3 separate regions of the Homo sapiens genome follow, and regions 1 and 3 are each linked to region 2. Evidence: promoter capture Hi-C in 16 types of primary human blood cells and fetal thymus (Javierre and others, 2016). All regions are on one chromosome and are shown on one strand. The core of a region is centred on a gene start or on the middle of the fragment in contact, and the rest is flanking DNA. Distances in the headings are between cores, read along the strand shown. Region 1 has its middle 140 kb from the start of ATF7IP. Region 2 holds the start of PLBD1-AS2 (PLBD1 antisense RNA 2). Region 3 holds the start of LINC01489 (long intergenic non-protein coding RNA 1489).

What was found. The method cuts DNA at HindIII sites, captures the fragments that hold promoters and counts their contacts. A CHiCAGO score of 5 or more calls a contact.
Region 1: a fragment that was not itself captured here is called in contact with the fragment with the promoter of PLBD1-AS2 in region 2 in 1 of 17 cell types (monocytes); the score reaches 5.4 in monocytes.
Region 3: a fragment that was not itself captured here is called in contact with the fragment with the promoter of PLBD1-AS2 in region 2 in 1 of 17 cell types (neutrophils); the score reaches 6.0 in neutrophils.

Annotation. Positions count from the first base shown.
Region 1 is chr12:14,228,820-14,231,830 of GRCh38, reverse strand. No RefSeq gene overlaps it. Among named protein-coding and RNA genes, the nearest start is that of ATF7IP, 140 kb to the left of the region's middle. The HindIII fragment of the contact is 266 bases long and covers 1,432-1,697 here.
Region 2 is chr12:14,528,763-14,531,771 of GRCh38, reverse strand. PLBD1-AS2 (PLBD1 antisense RNA 2) reads right to left here and starts at 1,633. Exons shown (of 5, transcript NR_187784.1): 1 at 1,531-1,633; 2 at 562-730. All of the region lies in intron 6 of PLBD1 (phospholipase B domain containing 1), which reads left to right. The HindIII fragment of the contact is 11,029 bases long and covers 1-2,468 here.
Region 3 is chr12:15,000,449-15,003,851 of GRCh38, reverse strand. It overlaps LINC01489 (long intergenic non-protein coding RNA 1489), which reads right to left and starts at 2,019. Exons shown (of 4, transcript NR_120466.1): 1 at 1,946-2,019; 2 at 817-917. The HindIII fragment of the contact is 3,304 bases long and covers 1-2,912 here.

The DNA.
Region 1 (3,011 bases), core at 315-2,814, 300 kb after region 2:
GTAGAAGGTTGCCCATAGTGGAGAAGGTAAGTTTAAAGAGGAAGGTAGAGACACGGAGAAATGGAGGTGGGCAGATACCAGGCTTCCAGTATGCGTCCCTGACTGAGTCCTGGGCTGTAATGTGGGTGAGCAGCCAAAGCAGGTGTCCCTGCAATTGACCTGCCACCAAGGGAGTGTGGGTGAATGATGAAGGCAGGCGTCCCCGCTATGATCAAACACCAAGGGAAGACTGTCTTCCCAAATCTGTGACGGACATTGGAGTTTTTGAGTTCACAGATAAAATGTGTCTCCTTTGTCTCTACTAGAAAGGAAAAGAACTGGAATTGGAAGGATAGGGAGACTGAAGGGTAGCAAGAGAGGCTGGAGAAGAGAGTGAAGAGACCGCTTCCTGATTTGAAATTGGTGAGATGTTCCTTGGGCTGATCTGATGACACCTCCAAAGGAACACAATGATTCTCTAGTAACAGACTTGAAGAAAAGGAAATCAATGAAATGCCTGAAAAGAAATTCAAAATAATGATCTTAAGGTAACTCAGTGAGATACAAAAGAATACAGATAGACAATTTAACAAAATTAGGAGAGAAATTCACGATCTGAATGAGAAATTCAACAAATAAATAGATATCAAAAAAAGAAACCAAACAGAAAATTTGGAGCTGAAGAATTTAACAAATAAAAAATATGGTTGAGAGCTTCAACAATAGAGTAGATCAAGCAGAAGAAAGAATTTCTGAAACTCTTTTGAAAGAATTCAAAAAGACTTTTGAAATAACCCAGTCAGACCACCAAAAATAAAAAGTTAAAAAGAAAAATCTGGGCACATGGGCTCATGCCTGTAATTTTAGTTACTTGAGAGGCTGATGTGGGAGAATTGCTTGAGCCTAGGAATTTGAGACCAGCATGGGCAGCAAAGTCAGACCCCATCTCTGGGGGAAAAAGATTAGCCAGGTGTGGTTGCATGCATCTGCAGTCCCAGCTACTTGCGAGGCTAAGGTGGAAGGATCATTGTGCCCAGGAGTTTGAGGCTGCAGTAAACTATAATCATACACTGCACTCCAGCCTGGGTAGCAGAGACTCTGTCTTTAAAACAAAGAAAAGAATGAAGAAAGCAGCCTAAGGGACTTGTGAGGCATGATTAAGTGAACATATATTTACACTATGGATGTTTAAGGAGAAATGGGAAAAGATATAGAAAAACCCATTTAATGAAATAACAGCTGAAAACTCCCCAAATCTTAGGAGAGATATAGATGTTAAATCCAGGAAGCTCAAAGTTTCCCAAATAGATTCAACCCAAAAAGGTCCCCTTCAAGTCACATTATAGTAAAACTGTCAAAAAGACAAATAATTCTAAAAACAGCAAGACAAAAGTGTTATTGCACACAAGGAAATCCCCATTAGAGAAACAGCAGATTCCTTGGCAGAAAGCTTACAAGCCAGGAGAGAATAGGATGACATATTCAAAGTGGTGAAAGAACAAAACTGCCAGCAAAGAATACTATACCCACCAAAGTTATCCTTCAGAATGAAGGAGAAATAAAGACTTTCCCAGGTGTATTTGGCCGTTCTTGCATTGCTACAAAGAAGTACCTGAGATTGGGTAATTTATAAAAGGAGAGGTTTTATGGGCTAATGGTTCTACAGGCTGTACAGGAAGCATAGTGGCATCTTGCTTCTGGGGAGGCCTCAGGAAGCTTCCAATCATGGCAGAAAGCAAAGAAGGAGCAGGCACATTACAAGGAGAAAGCAGGAGCAAGAGAAGGTGGGGAAGTGCCATATACTTTTAAGGGGCCAGATCTCATGAGAACTTACTGCTGGCTGGGTGTGGTGGCTCATGCCTGTAATCCCAGCACTTTGGGAAGCTGAGGTGGGTGGATCACAAGGTCAGGAGATCGAGACCATCCTGGCTAACACGGTGAAACCCCATCTCTACTAAAAAAATACAAAAAAAAAAATTAGCTGGGTGTGGTGGCAGGCCCCTGTAGTCCCAGCTACTTGGGAGGCTGAGGCAGGAGAATGGCGTGAACCCAGGAGGCGGAGCTTGCAGTGAGCCAAGATCACGCCACTGCACTCCAGCCTGGGCGACTGAGCAAGACATCGTCTCAAAAAAAAAAAAAAAAAAAAAGAGAACTCACTACTGAGGACAACACCAAGGGGATAGTGATAAACTATTCATGATAAATTTGCCTTTATGATCCAGTCACCTTTCACCAGGCCCCACCTCTAACATGGGATTACAAGTCAACATGAGATTTGGGCAGGGACACACATTTAAACTACATCACCAGACAAGCAAAAGCTGAAGGAATTGATTATCACTAGACTAGCCTTATAAGAAATGCTTAAGAAAGTCCTACGTTTGGAGGAAAAGGATGATTACTGCCATCATGAAATCACGTGAAAGTATAAAACTCACAGGTAGAACAGTTATCCAAATGAGAAAGAGAAAGGAATCAAACCTCATCACTACAGAAAACCACCAAATCACAAAGATAAACAATAAGAGAGGAAGAAAGGAAGAAAAGAAATCTAAAACAACCAGAAAACAATTAACAAAATGTCAGGAGTTTTTTTCTTACTTATCAATAATCTTGAACGAAAAACAAAATCTTGAATGTAAACATTAAATCCCCAATTAGAAAGATATAGGCTGGCTGAATAGATAAAAAAATATCAAGACTCAACTATATACTGCTTACAAGAAACTCACTTCACCTACAAAGACACACATAGACTGAAAGTGAAGGGATGAAAAAAGATATTCCATGCAAGCAGAAACCAAAAATAAACAAGAGCAGCTATGCTTGTATCAGACTTAAACAGACTTCAAGTCAAAAGCTATAAAAAGATACAGAGAAGGTAATTATATAATAATAAAGGGATCAATTCAGTGAGAGGATATAACAATTCTAAATAAATATGTACTCAACACTGGAGCACTCAGATATATAAAGCAAATATCATTAGATTTAGGGGGAGAGATAGATATCAATACAATAATAGTTGAGGA
Region 2 (3,009 bases), core at 384-2,883:
GTAATCCCAGCTATTTGGGAGGCTGAGGCTGAAGAACAGCTTGAGCCCTGGAAGCAGAGGTTGCAGGGAGCCGAGATAGCACCACTGCACTTCAGCTTGGGGGACAGAGTGAGGCCTCGTCTCAAGAACAACAACAAAGAGATTACATTCTAGGGAGGCAGCAATTAGCCTGAAGAGTCCAACAGAAAACATGTCGATCTATGTTTACACTGTAAAATTCCCAGTGTAGCTTTAGTAACCATAAAACAAATTATCATTCACAATTTTTTTAACACTCTGGGTAAGGCTTGCATTTGTGGTCATCATTAACAAAGCATAATAAGGATTTTTGAGTCATTAGAAGCCAGGATTCACAGGTAGAGTGGTAGATGTCGCAAAGTCATTAAGAAAATGGTGTTAGGGAACTGCAGAGGCAAGGAGATCTGTGTTGTTTCAAAACAAACAGGTTCCAAAAAGTCATGGTTTTGTAATAACAGTATTGCTACCTTTTTCTCATAACAAAAAATAGGAAATTAGCCAAGAACAATGCATTTAATAATAAAGAATACAAAGAGATGGTACCTGGATACTGTAACAAATCTTCACGTGCACTGATTGGACAATAGACAAAACAGATTGCCTTTCTCTGCCCATCATCCTAAATCTTCAATGATAAATCATCATATCTCACATGTACTGATGAATTTTTAAATATATGTTTTTAATCAAATTGTTTATATAGGCAGGGGCCCTGTTAAAAAAGACAAACAAACAACAACAAAACAACAACAACAACAAAAAACACTTGCCTGAGGCACTGGATACCCAAAGGAAAGTGGCTTTGAATGGCCTTGTTCTAGGAGTTTCTGTCCCTAACAAGAAGGGTTTTGAATACATGGTCTGTTTGCCTAGTAACAGCTAAGGCTGAGTAAGGAATGGAGAAGCCTTGCACTAGCCCTCCCCACACATTTACTTATTTTGGCAATGCAAATTAATAATCAAGGAGGTAAGACAAAGAGATAAATCACTAGAAAATGACGGCACTGAAATGGCAGCCAATACAATTGTGTGAAGACCTCAGCACAAAGATCTGATAGTTTTAACCAATCCAGAGAAAATTTACTTGTCAACAACATTGAGTCTTCCAATCTACTAATATAATCTATTTGTTTATTTCAGTCTTTAATTTGAGTCATATCATGTAGTTTTCAGTATTTAGGTCTTACATACCTTTAAGTAAGTTAAATCCTAAGTAATGTTTGATGCTACTGTAATCAAAATGTTTTTTATTCTTTTTTCAGTTGTTTGTTGCTCATATGTATTTATTGGTTACCCATTGCCACATAACAAATTGCTCCAAACATTAGTGGCTAAAAACAATAATGATTTAGTTACTCATGGTTTCTGTGGATCAGGAATTTAGATAGGGCACAGTGGGGATAATTTGTCTCTACTGTGACTGGGGCCTCAGCTGGAAGACTCAATGACTGAGGGGCTAAAATCTCTGATAGCTTAACTGAGACTGGAACATGCACTTCCAAAACGACTTACTAACATAGCTGACAGGGTGGTGCTGGCAACTGGTTCCTCTTCACTTGGGCCTCTCCTCAGAACTGCTTGAATGTCCTTCATGGCAAGACCCCTGGCTCCAGACGAAGCCATCCAAAAGAACAAGGCAGAAATAGTAATGCCTATTGTGACCTCACCTCAGACGTCACACACGCTCACTTCCACCAGGTTCTATTAATTAGAAGCAAGGTGTTATGACCAGCCCACATTCAAGGAAAGGCGATTAGAATCCACCTTTTAAAGAGAAGGGTGCCAAAGAATTTGTGGAAATTTGAAAACTACCACAATGTATTACGATTTTTTTGTACATTATTATCCTGAGATCTTTCTAATAGCTTTTTTGTAGATTCCTTGGGATTTTCTATATATACAATCATGACATCTCTAAATAAAGACAGTTTGACTTCTTCCATCCCTTGTATGTCTTTGATTGTTTTTTTGTATGATTGTGCTGGAGAAGACCTCCAGAATAATGGAGACCATAAGTGGTGAGCATGCAAATCCTTGCCCAATTCCTGACCTAGGGTGAAAAGTATTGTCTTTCACCATTAAGTATGATGTTAACTGCAGATTTTTTGTAGATGCCCTTTATAATGTTAAGGAAGGTCCCTGCTCTTCCTACTTTCTTTAATATTTTTATCAATAAATGAGTGTTGCATTTTTCTGAATTCTTTCTCAGCAATTGTTGAAAAGATCATATGAATTTTTTCCTTTATTAATATGATAAGTTACATTGATTGATTTTCAGATGTTAAACCACTTGAAATTCCTGGGTTAATCCTCAGTCATGATGTGTTATTCTCTGTATTTATTTTTAGTTCAGTTTACTAACGTGTTAATGATTTTTTTCATTTACATTCATGAGACATATTTGTTTGTAGTCTGCTTTTCTTATGATGGTTTTTGTTTTAGGATAAGCTTATCCTCATATCCTAAATGTGGAATTATTTCTTTCTCCTAAGTGTTTTAAGAGCATGTATATGATTAGTGTTATTTTATTCTATTTATTTATTTATTTATTTATTTTTAAAGACAGGGTCTCACTCTGTCCCCCAGGCTGGAGTACAGTGGTGTGAACATAGCTCACTGCAGCCTCAAACACCTAGGCTCAAGTGATCCTCCTGCCTTGGTTTCCCAAAATGCTGAGATTACAGGTGTGAGCCACTGTGCCCAGCCCATTTTCTTCTTTAAGTGTTTAATAGAATTCACGCGTGAAGCTAGATATGAAGGTTTTTATTTGTTGAAAAGTTATTAATTGTAAATTTAATTTCTTTCACTGCTACAGAACTATTTCAGTTTTCTAACTCTTCTTGAGTTAGTTTTAAAAATGTATCTTTCAAGGAATTTATCCCTTCTTTCTAAGTTATTGTTTTTATTGATATGAAGCTATTTATAATGTTTTTCTTAACCTCTTAATGTCTGTAGGATCTGTAAAGTCCCCATTATCATTCATGATATTGT
Region 3 (3,403 bases), core at 11-2,510, 470 kb before region 2:
AAAGAAGCTGTGAGAACCGTGGGAGATTAGACACAGTAAAAGACACAAATCGTATTTGTCCCTCATTAATGTAAAGCAGGGGAATTGCCCTGCAGGTTTCCATGTGAGAATATGTTATGCTTTATGGTGGAAGGAGGGTAAAAAAGTCAAAACAACCAGACTTTACCCCTAGATTTAACTAAGGACTAGCTCGACCACATTCTAGTTGTGGGGCATTTAATTATGAGCTCAAGACTGGTGATCAGTGCTCTTATTATAATACCTACTCCACAAGTGTGTGAAGAATCAAGTGCCTAGCATCCTGTCTTGCGCCTCGGAGGCACTCAATAGACAGGAGTTTAAGTCATTGCTGAGAGGAAGATAAATGAACTTATGACTTCTCTGCAGGTCAAGCAACTCACTATACCGATGGCTTCAACCTTCCCACTGCATCATTTCTTCATGTTTTGCAGATCATGAGAAAATGCTGTCATTAGCCAAGTCAGATTGTCTTCTGAACCTTAGGTCAACAACTCTGCCACAGAAAGCCTGCTATGGGCATAATTGTGAAATTAAAGAGAATTTCTGCAATCTCAGATGGCACTTTCTGTCCTCCTTCTGGTCCCACCCCAGGTGTTCTTAATGAACAATCAGCTGTCGGAAAGCTGCCCTAATTCTGCCCCACAGGAAAGAACAACTTCTTAAAGTGTGGTTCTCAAACTCCATGTGTCAGCATCCCCTCAGACGCCACAGGGACAAGCGAGTGGGCTGTCGAGATTGGAACATCCTGAAAACTGCTCAAAATATTCCACATGAAAAAACAAAGAAGTATTTTACCTGTGCGGGGATAGGATTGCAGACCCACAGGAAGTTTTTCTCCACTCTATTATCACAGAAAGGGATGCTCTGAGAATTCATGAACGATTGGGGTTTCTGTTCTGCATTTTTAAAAAGAGGGAGTTTGAAAGTAAGAGAACATTAATCCGATGGAAATGTGTTAAAAATTGATAAGTAAGACTGGAGCATTTGTATTTTGTGTAAATCTCTATTTGTTTTATGTGTTTAAATACCCACCAACAGAAAAACATTTTTAAATTAAAAGAAACCCCACTATCATTTTAAATTAAATTAAAAGAAGTCCTGCAAGTTTGTGAATTGTTAAGAGCTTTGAAATATAGAATTTGCAGAAACACACATAGCTGTAGGATAAAGAACATGATCCATCAGAGTCCGGGTCAGGAAACTAGAAAGCATATTATAACAGATGGAATGTATTATAAATTAATTATAATCAGTTATAAGGAATTGGCTAAGCTAAATAGAGAAGGTAGAATAAAGGGAAGAAATTGCGGTTCCGTCCCAGGTGTTCCTAATGAGCAATCAGCTGTCTGAAAGCTGCCCTAATCAGAGAAGATGCCCGGCAGAGCCATTGTCAGACTCGGACCAGATCTCTGAGGAGAGGGCACTGCCTGGCTGCTATGGGTAACTTTGCAGAAAAAGTGTAGAAAGAAGGTGGAGACTAGAACCAGACCAATTGCTGCTGCCAAGAGAGGGCGGTTGTTGCTGGCGGATGCCGCTGCCAGGAACAGGGACTTCTCCTTCCCTCCCTCCCTTTCTAGCCTTCCAGCAAGCATCCAGTGCCTCCCTCTCAGAGAAGCCTCACAGGCAGCCAAAACTCTATTTCCTATCATCCCAGCCCCAGTGCCATAAAGCTGAGTAAGGAAAGGTGGGTTTGAAGTAGAGAGACAATAGCTTCATAAACCAGCACACTGTCTTCTTAGGAAACCCTTCAAGTAAACTGAAGTAGATTAAAAAAAAAAATCACAGCAGATGCTTCAGCTGGTAACTGCAGTTTGCAAACAAAGAACCGCACTGCTGTAACCCGAGTGGGGAAGCCTCTGCTTATGCCATAGTGATCTTTGCAACTATCCATGCACACAAATAATTTTCTCATGTATTTACTCACCCAGGAAGTATTTACTGAGTTCCTTCTATTTCTAGGCATTTCCTAGGAAGTGGAGTGGGTATAACAGTGAACAACACAGGCAAATTCCCTGTCCTTGTGGAGGTGATGTTGTAACAGGATAGGCAGACAACAAGCATGCTAAAAATAGCCGGTAGTGCTAAGTGTAAAAAGACTGAAGATATGTGGGAACAAAGGGGTATCCAATCCACTTCCTTTTCCTAATGCAACAAACACATAACATTTTAATAAAAACAACTGATTATGCTAGCTCACATGGGCTAATATTTTACATTAACTTTCTTTCATAAGCCATCATTTCATCTGTCGGTGGTTCATACTAAGCAGCCTGGCTCACATCATATCTCTTAAAACAATAAGACCCAGAACCCTAAGATTCACCACTTCTGGTGAGAGCCAAAGTACATATACATGAGCTCCAGCCCTGCACACTGAGGTGGATGAGCTTCAGGACATTCTCTTTAAGACTGTTCTTGTGTCCCAGACATAGCATGTAGGGGTCTGAAATAATCCTCAAAGAGCTTTAATGATGAACTTTGCAAGAGAAGATATTTGGGAGAAGTAGAAAACCAGAGGACATGTTTCAGAGACTGGTCCTTCTTTTCAAACTTCAGGGGAAAATCACCTACTTGTATCTTAGCGTATAGTTGGTTGCCTGAATGAAATAATTTCAAATGATGGTTATTCTAATTCTGTCATATTTTTTACTTTAGGCAAAATAAATATTACAAATGTCTTGACTCCAATTTGTTTTGCTTCTTCAAGGCACCATAACTACTGAAATATTGAGGATATAAATCAAACCTGTTGTGTACATATTTCTTGTGGTGACCTATGTTAGAAAAATAACTGAGGCTGTAGCATGCATTTACTAATCCTTCATTTAAATGCCATGCAGCAGCTGCAGATTATGTATACTGAAATGATGATCATGCTGTGGATAGAAGCTTTAATTATTTGGGGATGGGGATTTTTTAAAACCACACTTCTCAGTATGTTCCTTCTTATACCTAACATTAAAACATTTTTCACTCCTTTTCTGAAAATCTAATAATACTGGCCACTGTATGTAAATGACCTCTAAAGTGACGCATGCTTTCCCAAGTGTGGCACAATCTCTGGTTTCACATAGCTGGCTTCACTCAGTTCCATCACCTACTTGCCTTTGGAGGCATTTGAGTTTTGCAAACTCTGTACTTAGTGAATAGCTCAGAAGAGATATTAAATATGTTTAATAATCAATAAGGCATGGGCAATAAATAGGTGAGGTCCTAGAAGTCCGATGCAGTGTTAGGCATTAGCCCATTAACTTCTAATTGTGAGAAGAGGCTAAGTTGAAGGGATATGGGGGATGCCTAGGGGGATCATGACAGGAGTTATTAACCCGTCATTTAAATATCAATATCTGAACTACCTATATGGCCGTATCAACTGAATATC